3 separate regions of the Homo sapiens genome follow, and all the other regions are linked to region 1. The links are contacts of gene promoters, found by promoter capture Hi-C in blood cells and fetal thymus (Javierre and others, 2016). All regions are on one chromosome and are shown on one strand. Each heading gives the region's core, a stretch centred on a gene start or on the middle of the fragment in contact. The rest is flanking DNA. Distances are from core to core; before and after follow the strand shown.

Evidence for each region. The method cuts DNA at HindIII sites, captures the fragments that hold promoters and counts their contacts. A CHiCAGO score of 5 or more calls a contact.
Region 2: a contact is called between a fragment that was not itself captured here and the fragment with the promoter of RTN4R in region 1, in 4 of 17 cell types (M0 macrophages, M1 macrophages, fetal thymus and 1 more). The highest score is 8.5, in M0 macrophages.
Region 3: a fragment that was not itself captured here is called in contact with the fragment with the promoter of RTN4R in region 1 in 5 of 17 cell types (M0 macrophages, total CD4 T cells, M2 macrophages and 2 more); the score reaches 8.1 in M0 macrophages.

The regions. Positions count from the first base shown.
Region 1 is chr22:20,265,770-20,270,149 of GRCh38, reverse strand. RTN4R (reticulon 4 receptor) reads left to right here and starts at 1,832. Exons shown (of 2, transcript NM_023004.6): 1 at 1,832-2,079. The coding sequence starts at 2,058. RefSeq lists silencers at 1,569-1,628, 1,679-1,838, 1,929-2,088 and an enhancer at 2,300-2,988. The HindIII fragment of the contact is 20,492 bases long and covers 1-4,380 here.
Region 2 is chr22:20,138,260-20,142,089 of GRCh38, reverse strand. ZDHHC8 (zDHHC palmitoyltransferase 8) reads right to left here. Exons shown (of 11, transcript NM_013373.4): 2 at 2,775-2,896; 3 at 2,455-2,612; 4 at 2,198-2,370; 5 at 1,873-1,975; 6 at 1,382-1,473; 7 at 1,078-1,219; 8 at 753-873; 9 at 560-669. Among named protein-coding and RNA genes, the nearest start is that of ZDHHC8, 8.4 kb to the right of the region's middle. The HindIII fragment of the contact is 2,442 bases long and covers 1,122-3,563 here.
Region 3 is chr22:20,455,792-20,460,028 of GRCh38, reverse strand. KLHL22 (kelch like family member 22) reads left to right here. Exons shown (of 7, transcript NM_032775.4): 5 at 2,029-2,221. Among named protein-coding and RNA genes, the nearest start is that of SCARF2, 20 kb to the right of the region's middle. RefSeq lists a silencer at 101-299 and an enhancer at 3,264-3,765. The HindIII fragment of the contact is 5,197 bases long and covers 1-4,237 here.

The DNA.
Region 1 (4,380 bases), core at 583-3,082:
GGGAGGGGCTTTAAACCTATGAGATAGGGTGTGGGGTCACAATCTTCAGCTATAGTGGGCTGCTCTGGGTCACTGGTAATTGAAGAGACGCCTGCGGAGTAAGCAAGCAAGTGTCCTCTCAAGGCCTTTCTGCAAGCACAGAGCAGCCCGAGACTGGAGCCTGGTCCACCCCAGCGCTGTCCTCAGACTGATGGTCAGTGCCACGTGACTCATCTAGGGTCTGATACATCCCTGTGGAGAGAGCTCAGTTCCTAGCCTGGGGGCTGCTGTGTGCAGGGACCCTGGAGAAGAATGCTTGTCTGGGGGTCAGGCCTCAGCCTCCCACTGGCTCTGTGAGCTTCGCCTGAGGTTCCCTATCTGTGCAATGGGTGATGACGTCTTGGTGTGGCTCTGGGAGGACCTGTTGAGCCACCTCAGGGGCTGAGCTGGTGGCACTCGGCAGCCAGCACCCTCTGGGGAGGTGGCAGTGTGTGCACAGCCCACCCCTTCAGGAGGCCAGGGGACAGAGTGGCTGGGGGTGTCTGGGCCCCACCTCACCTTCTGTGTGGCTGGGAATGGCATGCACTCCACAATGCCCTCATAAGCCTAGGCTGGGACAAGGGTGATAGGGATAAAGCAGGCCAAAGTGATGAGGGCCACAGAGCGGCAGCCAGAGGCATGTGGGCAGTGCAGCCTCCACACCAGGCAGAGGGCCCACCCAGCATGGCTCCACCCTGCGAAGCTGCCTGCCACTGGGATCAGATGGGAGCACCAGGGCTCTGGGAGGTCCTCACTTCCTCTGCACAAGGCAGGCAGGTCACCGGCCCTGCGCCCTGCTCATCTCCCTCAGGGCCACCTCCATGGCCAGGGGCAGGCAGAGGGCACAGGGGTGCCCAGTCACCAGGTCTCTCTGCTTCATATCAGTGGACCTGGGCTCTGAGGGGGGCCATCAAGGCATCAGGCTGGCCCACTCCGTCCTTGAGTCAGGGTCCTACAGACTGACACCAGGTGGGCCTGCAAGACCCTCATCTGCATGGTCCTCTCATGCAGGGTGGGCCTGGGGAGGACCCAGCCCGGCTGAGCTGACTCCCAGCACTTCTCCAGGTGCAGGGGCAGCCTGGCAGTTGTCTGAAGACCCCGGGATGCACTTAGGAGCTCATCGGTGAGGCCCGGTAGGTGCCCCGAGCAGAAGATTGAGAAGGGACACCTGCACCCCTGTGTGGTGTGTGCAGGGGCGTCACTGGATTCTCTGGCCCCATGCCTCACACCGCCCGTGGGGGGCTGGCTTGGTAGAGTGGGGGGATACTAAGCAGGTGACCTCGGAGAGCGTCTTCTGGGTTTGGAGCCCCCATTCCGCAGAAGGGAAGAGGTGGGGGACCCCTGCAGGGTTACGGGTAACATCAGGCCTAGGTCCCTTCTCTAGGATGGTGCAGAGAGGGCCACAAAGGCCCAGGAGGGCCCCCAGAACTCTCTTAAGCCCTGAGCCTGTTTCTTACTGAAAAATGGGGGCGATCGTGCTGCAGCAAGGGGCTTCTGTGCAGGGGGCGGGGGATTCATGGGTTTCGTGAGGCCAGGAAGGGAGTGGGTCAGGCAGAGGCCATTCCTAGGCCTCGGGACAAAGCCCTTGCCCGCTTGGGGACCGGGCCAGCCTAGGCCGCCACACCCTCGGGCCCGCGTCCCCGGCCGGCTCCGGCCCGGGCCGCCATCCCCTCCGCCGCCTGCAGGGGCCGCCGCCTCTTCAGGAATGCGCCGCCTTTGTCTGGGACCGCGCGGCGCCGGTGCACCGGGCGGGCTGAGCGCCTCCTGCGGCCCGGCCTGCGCGCCCCGGCCCGCCGCGCCGCCCACGCCCCAACCCCCGCGCCGCCGCCGCCCTCGCCCTGTGCGCCCTGCGCGCCCTGCGCACCCGCGGCCCGAGCCCAGCCAGAGCCGGGCGGAGCGGAGCGCGCCGAGCCTCGTCCCGCGGCCGGGCCGGGGCCGGGCCGTAGCGGCGGCGCCTGGATGCGGACCCGGCCGCGGGGAGACGGGCGCCCGCCCCGAAACGACTTTCAGTCCCCGACGCGCCCCGCCCAACCCCTACGATGAAGAGGGCGTCCGCTGGAGGTGAGTGTCCGCGCTGCACCCGAGCCCGGCCGGCGGCGGGGCGCGGAGGGGGGCGGCTCGCCCCCTCCCCGGAGCCGCAGGGCCCGTCCCGGGCTGCCGAGGCGAGGGAAGCGTAGCCGGGCGGCAGGGAAAGCCACCGCAGTGCCGCGCCAGGCTGGGGCCGCTGGCGCCCCGGCCCCGGGAGGGCGGAGCCGGAGGCGGCAGGAAAAGTTGCCGCTTCCCGGGAAAGTTGACGGCTTCGGCAGGGCCGAGGGTGGCGGTCCGAGGGTCCCCGATGCTGGGCCAAGTCGAGGGCGGGGGCCGTGGGCTGGAAGGGCGGGGCCCGGCCTCGGAGCGCCCCGGCCACCAAGGGGTTAACGAGCGGGTTTTTGCAGAAACGTGGGTACCGAGGGTGGGTGGGGGTGTCGGGCCGCCTCCACCCCAGCCTCACGGTCTGGGCTCAGAACCTCCCGTTTCTCCGAGGTCAGTCCACAGTGGGATGAATGGGGGCGTTGGCGGCAGTAGAGGGCGTGGGGGACAGGGTTGTCCCAGCGCTGCCTCCAGGGCGGGCGGTGAGAGGAGGCAGCAACGCCCGCCATCTGCAGCCCGAGGGACATTGAGAGGCTTGGCTGGGGGAATCAGGGGCGGTGGGGCAATCAGCAACCCCTCCCTAGCAGCCCTCGTGGGACTCCCCCGCCCCACCGGCTGTGAGGTCCCGCGGTGCGGGCAAGGGAGGGTGGGCTCCATGTGAGTTGGGCATGCCCCGCCTGGAGGGTGCTCCCCAGGTGCCCACCCAGGCTGCCCTGCTGATGTCCATGGTGCCGCAGGCTGCACACACGTTTCCTTGCACGTGCACTTGTCTACACGGACTGCACACTTGCACACCTCTGGTGCACATGCAAGCCAACGCCGCCCCAGTGTGCACATGCACAAACACTGGGTGCACACACGGACTCTGAGGGTGCATATCTGTGTCCTCGCCCCCGCCTGCACACCCACGGCCACACATGCATGCACGCGGCATGCCTGCTGTGGTCTCCACGGGTGGCACATGCTGGGGCCCCTTTCGCAATAACCACTCCCGCACCCACATGCTCGTCTGTTGAGTGGGGAGGCCAGGCCCACAGACAGGGGCAAGACATCCTGGGCCCCACCTCTGCCTGCCTGCCTCCGTGTCCTGGGGGTCCCCGCCTCGGGCTTGTGTGCGTGTGTGTAACTTGGTATGCATCTGCACGTGTGTCTGTGCGCGTGATCATGTGTGCCTGCGGGCACATAGGCATGTCTCTTTGCCTCCAGGGTGTGGGTGCCCCTTGTGTGCCTAGACAGGCTGTGGCCTAATCTGGAGCAGAGGCCCTGGAATGTGTGTTGGGGGCTCGTTGAATACCGCAAAGCCCAGGGTGTGAGGGGCAGGGTCTCCCAGCCACTCCCTACCCACCAGGGCTGAGGCAGATAGATGATGGTGGGCTGGAACCTGTCTGGGCAGGGAAGACCCATTTCAGGCCATGAGGTCAACACTGTGACCAACAGGCCAGACCCTGGGCACCCTTGGTGGCCGCTGCAGCTTGGCTGACTGGAGCACGTGACCCAGCGTGACTGCAGAGGCCCCGCCTCCAGTGCCTCAGTTTCTCCATGGTGAGGACCTTCTTGGTGAGGGGTTCTGTGGTGGGCTCCCCTACCTCCGGTGTTGTGTAGGGTGCTGAGCAGATGGATGCCATGCTGCATGATGGGCAAGGGTGGCCCACTAGCACTGTGGCAAGGGCCCTGGGCTGGGGCTTGGATTGGCAGGCCACACCTCCTGCTCCCCTGGCCACCACCAGAGGCTCATCTATAGAGTGGGGACCAGCAGGTTATCCTTGTAGGTTGTGTGAGGGTGAAACATACTAGCAGAGGGGCAGCTGAAGCAGTGGGGCTGGCCAGTCTCTTTTTCTAAGCCTCAGTCTTCCCATCTATAAAGGGGGTACTGTTCCCTGTTCTTCTCTACTGAGGTGAGGAGGAAGTGAGCTCCCATGCCGGGGGTGGGAATGGGTGGCCATCAGCACCTAGACGCCACCTGGCAGAGGGGCACGTGCAGGGCCTGCCGTGGCAGAACCGTGACCTGGATTTGGGTCCTGGCTCAGCCACCTGCTGGCGGTGTGACCTTGGGTGTGACAGGTCGCCTCTCTGCCTCAGTCTTCCTCACCTGCACCATGGGCCAGTGGTCAGGGATTATCGGGGCACTTCCAGGCTGAGGCTGGGCGGAATTGGCCCGGCTTTCCCTGTGGAGTTCTGACTCTGGTGCTTCTGCCTCAGAATGCCCACAACACCTCCCCACACCCCCACTCA
Region 2 (3,830 bases), core at 1,093-3,592, 130 kb after region 1:
CTCTCGGGGTGGCCCAGAAGGAAGGATGGCACCCTGGGACTGTTTGGTGTTCCTGATCACTGCACAGACCGCCCCGCACTGCCCACCATTCCAGTGACCACAGAGCACTCATGCAACTCAGGGAAGAGAAATGTGCTTTCTCAAGCACGTCTCAAATTCTTCCAAAGTCTTCCCGTGGGCCTTACAGAGTGACTAATGGTGGAATTCCAGGCATCCTGGTACACAGTGCTCCTGGGGGCAGCCGCCCACCTGGCCTAGGGCAATGCTGGCCAAGGGACAGACGCCAAGCCTGGATGGCCCACGCCAGCCCCTCCCAGGACACCCTGCTCCCCTCTGTGGGTCCCAGCTCTGGGTGCACACAGACAGGGTCCTACCAGTCACACAAGGCCCTTGGTGACCCAGGCAGAGCCCTGAGGGGCATGGCCTCAGGGGATGTGGCCTCTGCTGGAGAGATGGGGCTCTGGAGGTGGGGCCTTCACGGGGTGAAGGCTGTGGGGCGAGCTCCTAGAGGCGGGCCTGGGGGACGAGGCCTGCCAGGGGGCAGGCTAGGCCTCCTTACCTGCTCGCCTGGTCCACAGAAGGGCACCTTGGGACCCGTGGGGAAAGCCGGCCTAAACTTGTACATGGCAGGTGTCGGGGGGCTGGTCCTCTGCACCGACAGGGCACTCTCTGGGGATGCAGACCACTGTCAGACTGAGGTCAGAGGAGGGTCAACCCATATCCCTCCCTAGTCGTGGCTGCCCCAACCTCACCAGCACTGCCTGGGCGCGGGGTCTGCAGGTCACTGCTGAACGTGCCAGCCTCTATCTTGGGGGGCAGTGGTGGCCCCAAGTCCAGTGGCTTCTCATCCAGCCGGTCCAGGCTGCCCTTGGACTGGGAGGGAGCGGGGTCAGTGGTGTGTGGGGCTTGGATGAGGGGCAGGGCTTCACTAGGGATTCAGCCTGGGACCTAGCCCCCTCCCAAGAATCTGTCTACGGCTCTGTCTGCCCCATCCACCTCTTCTAGGCCCCCACCAACCTGCCTGTTTCCCCATCCAAGGGCCTGACTGCCAGCCCATCCCTAAGCCCAGGCGCCCACCTTGCTACGGCCCAGGCCAGCCTTCAGCCCGTTGTCACTAAGCTTGACCTTGAGCGGTGCAGCTCGGTCCAGGAGTTCAGGCCTAAGGAAAGGCGGCTTCAAACTCACCGCGAGCGGCAGCCGGGGTGGCTCCACCACGTACCTGCACCAGGGCACAGGGGTCAGTAGCCAGCCCACCTGCCACAAACACACAAGGGCAGGGCTGGCCATACCTGGCAAGAGCCAAACGGACCAAGAGGGTCTAAGGCTGCCCGCCCCACACCCAGCAGAGGCCCCCCTCCACCCTGCCCAGGCCGGGCCTCACCGGGGCGCCAGGGGGCTACACAGCACGTGCTCCACATTCCCACAGCAGCCTCGGGTGAAAGGGTTCACACCCCCGCGGAACTTCCCAGTCACCTGTGGATGCAGGACCCTCAGCCAGCCTGGCCTCCCAAGGTCCAGGCCAGGGTGGGCAGGGGGCTGGGCAAGGGAGCTGGGGTTCCTTAGAAGCTGATACTTGCGGGAAGTGGCTTAGGTGGGATCAGCCCAGGGCTGCCCCTCACATAGGTTACCCAGCCTGAACTTGCAGGGAGCTGTGGGATTTCTGGGTCACTGGTGGCCACAGTGTCCACAGGCAGGATGTGCGCAGGGGACGGGGCAGGCGTAGCCCCACGTGGGGGTCTCAGAGTTGGAGCCTCGTCTCAACACAGCTGCACAAGCTACCTCAGGCAAGGGTGCCCCAGCCCCCACCCTGTCCCCATGCAGCCCCAACTCTCTCGGCCCTTTGGGGCCACCCATCCCCCATGGGGTCTGCACCTGCTCGTTGGTGGTGCGCCCCCGAGTGACCAGCACCACATGGAAGCCAGTGAGGCCAATGACAGGGATGAAGAAGAGGCCGGCCACACACATGACAGCCATGCTAGCCCGTTAAGGCCAACGGTGCAGGCCAGGACACCGCAGACCCCATCGCAGCAGCACAGAGCAGGTGCCTGTGGACAAACCTCCTCCCAACCTAGGGACGGCCACCTGCCCACTGGGGATCCCTGGGCAGGAACCAAGCCTTCTGAGGCTCAATCTCCCTGGTGAACGTGTCCCCGGTCCACATCGCCTCTGCAATGAGGCCCACAGGAACCAAGGATACGTGATGGTGGTGTGCGCGGCTCCCAGCCCCTCAGCGTGGTTCAGCACGTAGACCAGGCCGAAGGCCACGACGCCCACCATGTGTGCACTGAGTGACAGCAGGAACAGGAAGAAGTAGCGATAGTTTCGACGCCCGATGCAGTTGTTGACCCAGGGGCAGTGGTGGTCAAAGTCCTGGGCGGGAGCAGTGCATCAGGGCACATGGCAGGCAGGGATGTGGCACAGGGCTGGGGGAGCGCGGGGCAGCAGGGCGGTCACCTCTACACAGTTGTCACAGACGCTGCAGTGGGAGCAGCGCGGCGGGCGGTAGAAGTGGCACGTGGCACACCACTTCATGCGGACCTGGATACCTCGCACATCCACGTTCTTGTACAGCGGAGCCCGGAAGTCGTCCTCCTTGTCCTCATCCTCATCCGCTACAGACCAGGAGCCAGGCAGTGAGCAGGAAGTTGACTTTCCTGGCAGGTGAATCCCTCCCCCAAGTCCAGCCCACCCACCAGGAATCCCTAAGGCTGTCTCAAGTTAGCCACTCACACTCTAGTGAAAGTGAGAGGAGCTGCCGCAGCACAGGGCCCTACCTCGGGGGAAAACACCAGGGTCCATGAAAGTGGCCATGCTGAAGTTGGCCAGGACAAAGAGGAAGATGATGCCATTGTAGACGGGAACAGCTGGGGACACAGCTCGTGTCAACCACGGGCACCTGCAGTAGACAGTGGGGGCAGAGAGTGGAGTCTGGGGGTGCAGAGCGGATGCAGGCGCAGAGCTATGTGGTGCGGCAGGCTGGGCCTGCAAGGTCACCCTCAGAGCTCAGAGGCAGTGGGGAGGCTGCCACAGCCCTGCCAAGAAACCTCAGCCACATCGCTCCTTCGAGTAACGGCCAGAGGCTGTGCGTATCAGTACAGCATGTGGGCTACCCGTGCCCTGACCCGGCAACCTCTCAGGGCAGCCGTCTCAGAGAGGCCCACAGACCTAAGGTCACCCCATTCCAGCGACCTAGGCTCCATGACTGGGGCGGGGTAGGGGGCGGGGGCGGTACACAGGCTGGAGGTGGGAGCCCCAGATGGAAAATGCGCCACGATGCCTCATCCAGGCCTGTCCCTGGCCCAGTGGGGCCTCTCACCAGGCAGATTCTGGGGTGTGGGGAGCCCCAGTCCTTGGTCAGTAAGTGCATGGGGCATGTCTCCCCTACTCTTCCCAGTCAGGCACATCCCCATCCAGACAGCCCCTTCTTTTTAGTTTGTCACCTCCCTCCCCAGATGACAAAGTAGAACACTTAGGGACTCTAGAATGCACAACACCCCCCACCACTTCCCATCTTCCCAGCCATCAGCACTTGGCTCCAAGGCCACCCCCTCTTCCGGGAAGCTTTCCAGGACTCCAGGCTGCCCTCTGCAGCTTCCCTATAAGGTGTGCCCTCACACACCTTCCTGAAAGGCGCCTTCCTCAGCCCTTAACGGGCCTGGCCCGAGTCCCCTCTGAAGAGACTTGCCGGTCCTCGGGCCACACGGCCTGCAGCGGGTTCCTAAATCCACCCACTCAGCTTCCAAGAAGCCCCTCTGGCCTCAGGCTCCTTGTCTCTCCCCTGCGCACCCTGAGACAGCTGCTGTGACAAGCAGCAGGGACAGGAACACAGG
Region 3 (4,237 bases), core at 571-3,070, 190 kb before region 1:
CTTCTGGCTTGTGCCCCAGGTCATGCAGGTCTCAGACCCTGCCTTCTCAGGAGGCCTTTCCTGATCACTGCAAGGGAGCTCTGCCCTCCCCAGGCCCCGCTGACCAGCAGGTCACTCATCTTCTTACCTCCCTTTCTTTCTTTCACAGTGTCTGTCATTATATTAAGCACTCATTTGCTCTGGTTAGCCTGTTTCCATTCTGCAGGGGAAGGCAGGGCCCTGACCTCTTGAGGCTCCCTCTGGATGTAGTGCTGAGCACTGTGCCCCATCCACAGTGGGAGACCTGGGAATGTTGGTAGAGTGAATGAATGATTCATTGCTGGTAATCTTACTCCTTTGTTTAATTCATTCAGCAGACAGAACATAATCTGTCCTGAGCCAGAGGCTACACTGAGGTCTAGGAATATAGAAATGAACCATGATCCATCAGAACCCCCAAGTTAACAAGGACACTTTTCATGCTCGTCTTTTATGATTCTTCTTGATAGCTTTTCTAGGCAGGTGATATCACCTCATTGGACAGGTGCAGAACTGAGCGAATCCCAAGAGATTAAAACTGATGCCCAGGCACACCCAGCTAGACAGGGAAGAGCCCAGGATTCACACCAGGTCAGGGAGACCCAGGTGTGTGTTCCCTCTCTTGTTGGCCCTGCCTTCTGAGGCTCCTGTTTGCTGCATTCCTGGTAGGCGGCGGGGAGGGGCTGGCCACACTGCAGGGGCTGCAGGAAGCAAAGGATGAAACTGATCTTTTCACTAACCAGCATAGGGCACAGGCCAAAGAAAACTTTGGTTACTCTCTTGTGAGCCAGTTGAAGTTAGACTTGTTCTCTTTGGAATAGGTCTTCCTCTGCAGAAATAAAAACACTTGTCTGAAAGAGGCTGTAACTATCTGTGGGCTGTTGGGCAAGGACACTTCAGATACTGGCTTTGAGCTCACTGGGTCCTGGCCCCTCATGGCTCTGTGATCATCTCTGCTCCACATTGCAGGCCATGCTCCCTGTTGGTGCTCAGCCCAGGAGCCCTCCTTGGGTCCTGGCCAGACTCCTCCACCCTCGTGGGCCTGCCGCAACCAGTCTAGTGCCTTTTCTCCCATGGGGGTCCCTGGAATCTCACACACCCTGCCCTTACAGAGCCTGCAGTCCAGGGTGGGAGTTAACCCTTTCCACTTTCCCAGAGAGGGAGACCTTGAGTGGAGGGGAGGTCAGGAAACGCGGGGCTGGCAGCATGGTGGGAGGAGGTGAAAGTACGATGACCAGAGCCTTGTGTGTGCGGCTGTTGACAAAGCTGAGGGTATGATGGGTGCTGTGTGCAGGGCGTGCCTGAGAAGACCACTCCTGATGGAGTGCTGGGGGAAGTTCAAGGCTTGGAGGCCAATGAGGGGGCTGATGGCACCCATCCAGTGGAGAGGCTGTATTTGGAGGCCCTCCTGAGTGGGAGCAAGGCTATGTGGATGATGAGATGAGGTAAGTGAGATGGAAGTGGCTGTACGAACAGCCATTGAGGCTGAGGCAGGAGGATTGCCTAAGTCCATATCCCAGGTGTCAAGACCTTGTCTCTATCAAAAAAAAAAAAAAAAAAAAAAATAGCGGGCGTTGTGGTGCGCACCTGTAGTCCCAGCTACTTAGGAGACTGAGGTGGTAGGATCACTTAAGCCCAGGAGGTCGAGGCTACAGTGAGCCATGATTGTGCCACTGCACTTCAGCCTAGGGGACAGAGAGACCTCTCTCCACAAAAAAAAAAAAAAAAAAAAAAAAAGAGCCATTGGACAGCCCAGGTGGACAGTTAGGTGGAAACACAGGAGGCTCCTGGCCATTCCTTCCATGCTGTGTGGTGGGGAGCACCTGTGCTCAGGTGTGTAACAGCCTGTGGGCCTGGCTGTAGATCGGTGTGCACTGGTATGTGGGGTAGTTGGGGAGGGTTCAGGCTGGGCTGAGGCAAAGCAGAAATGGGACCAGAACAAGAGGTGCAAGCCTGCGGAGCAGCCTCCCTGCCTAGTCAGTGCTGTGCTTTCCTCATGTCTCGGCACAGGTATGACCCACGGCACAACCGCTGGTTCCAGATCCAGTCCCTGCAGCAGGAGCACGCCGACCTGTCCGTGTGTGTTGTAGGCAGGTACATCTACGCTGTGGCGGGCCGTGACTACCACAATGACCTGAATGCTGTGGAGCGCTACGACCCTGCCACCAACTCCTGGGCATACGTGGCCCCACTCAAGAGGGAGGTAAGGAAGCCCTCGAAGAGGGGCCTTCTCCTGCCTAATTTCCTTCCCCAGGATGTGCAAAGAGTGAGAGGCCTAGGTGTCAAGGCCTGTCCCAGGTCAGAGAAACAGGCTCAGTGAGCAGAATCCATGCTTCTCCAGAGACCCTGCATTGAATGCATTGATGAGGCCCCATGAGGTTCAGCCAGTCCACCTGGGGAGGCTCATCAAGGATCCAGACCCCATTGCTCAGAATTGTGCCCCACTTGTGAGTCTTACATGCTGAGACCTTGTCACACCACCTTGGCCCTGGCAAGCTGCTTAAACCTTGTAGTTCAAATGTGGATAGAACATTTGCTCTTTGTGCAGCTGAGACGAGCTGGGACACTTCCAGAGATGTTAAACAGGAAGGGACCCTGAGAGCTCACTGGCCTATCCTCAGACCTCTTCCCTCTAGGTCCCCTGAAGGGTGGCGCCTTCCAGAGCCAAGAAACACTCTAAGGTTTTATTTTTTATATTAAATCCTATGTTTGAATATTGGGACAACTTGAAAAAAAAATCACGTGCATCCTATATAATACCTTGGTTTATTCCAATTTGAAGATGTTTAAAATTATGTTCATTATGGAAAAATGATGTTTTAGGGAGGTGCCTCTCTTTTATCTTACGACTTTGGGGTACTCAGGCCTGGTGTAACAACCAGACATGGGATCCCAGGGAAGGAACAGGCCTTGCTGGCCCCCTACTTCCTGGGTCTCAGCCTCCGAGAACAGGGCATACCCTAGCAGTACTAGGGGTACCCTAGCAGGGCACCCCGCTAGTACTGGCATAGCATTTGTGGAGCACCTGCTATGGGCCAGGTACACCTTTGGGGATAACCGAGCACCTGAGAGGCAGAGGATGGTATGGGGGGCAGGTTCTACCTGCACTGCCTCAGGGAGTTTAGCAAGAGCTCTGGCCTTTGTAAGCCTCTTTCCAGTATCTCTCATGACCCCCAATTCCCCCAGGGACTTAGACTTTGACTTCAGGGGTCAGGGCTAGTGTCTCCTCAATGGATCCAGCTCTTCTTTATCCAGGTCATTCACACAGCCCACACAGATTTCTGTCTCTTGGGCAGCTGTGAGCTGCAAGCTGTGGCCTGCTCCTTGCTCTCAGCTTCTTTGGGGAGAAGGAAGCCTCTTTGGAAGGACACTCCGTACCCCCATCCTGGGGAAAGGAGCAGATTTTGCATGGAGAAGATCAGGAGGTCCTTGAGACCAAGTGGACAAGGAGGGCTCTTGGGTTCTGTTCCAGGAAGGGTGTTGGGGGAAGCCTCCTAGGTGGGTGTTGTGGGAGGGGCTTAGCAGTTTCTTTGTCTGCGGCAGCTGGGGAAGCAGCAGTTCTCCAGCTTGGCCACAGAGGGGCAGCCTTGGCTTTCAACCAGCTGCATCGTGGCTGCCGGTGTTCCTTCATGCACGCATTCATTCCGCAACTACTAAGCACCATGTACCAAGTCCTGGGAATCCAGTGGTGACAAGAAATGAGAAAGACTCCCCACTCCATGGTGTTTACAGCCTTGTAGGAGAAACCACTCTTAACCAGAAAACAGATCAGTAAAGTGGTTACAATTATGGTAAGTGAAATGAAGAGGGGGCTGAACTGGAGGATTTCCAGGGAGGGGGCTCTGGTAGGATGAATCTAGAGGGACTTTTTGGGGAATGTCCATCTGAGGAGATGTCAATTAGACCTGCCATTTACAGAGGGAGGAAATGTTACTGGGAATGTGTCCTCGGTTCTTGTCTTCTTGGTTAAGACTTTAAGCAAGAGACATGCATTAACGAAGATAAGTGTAAGGCAGTTTATTGCAAAAGTGAAGGTACATTCTGAAGGCCGAGTCAGAGCAGGCTGCTCCAGAATAAGATCGCCCCAACTGGCATGGGAAACCTCCCTTACAGGAGGCTTACATGATTATTCATAAATGGGCGGGAAGAGGTGTTACTCATAAGCATGTTTTGTTTGGGTGGTCTTCTAGCAGCGCATGCACTGTGGCTCTACGTGCTA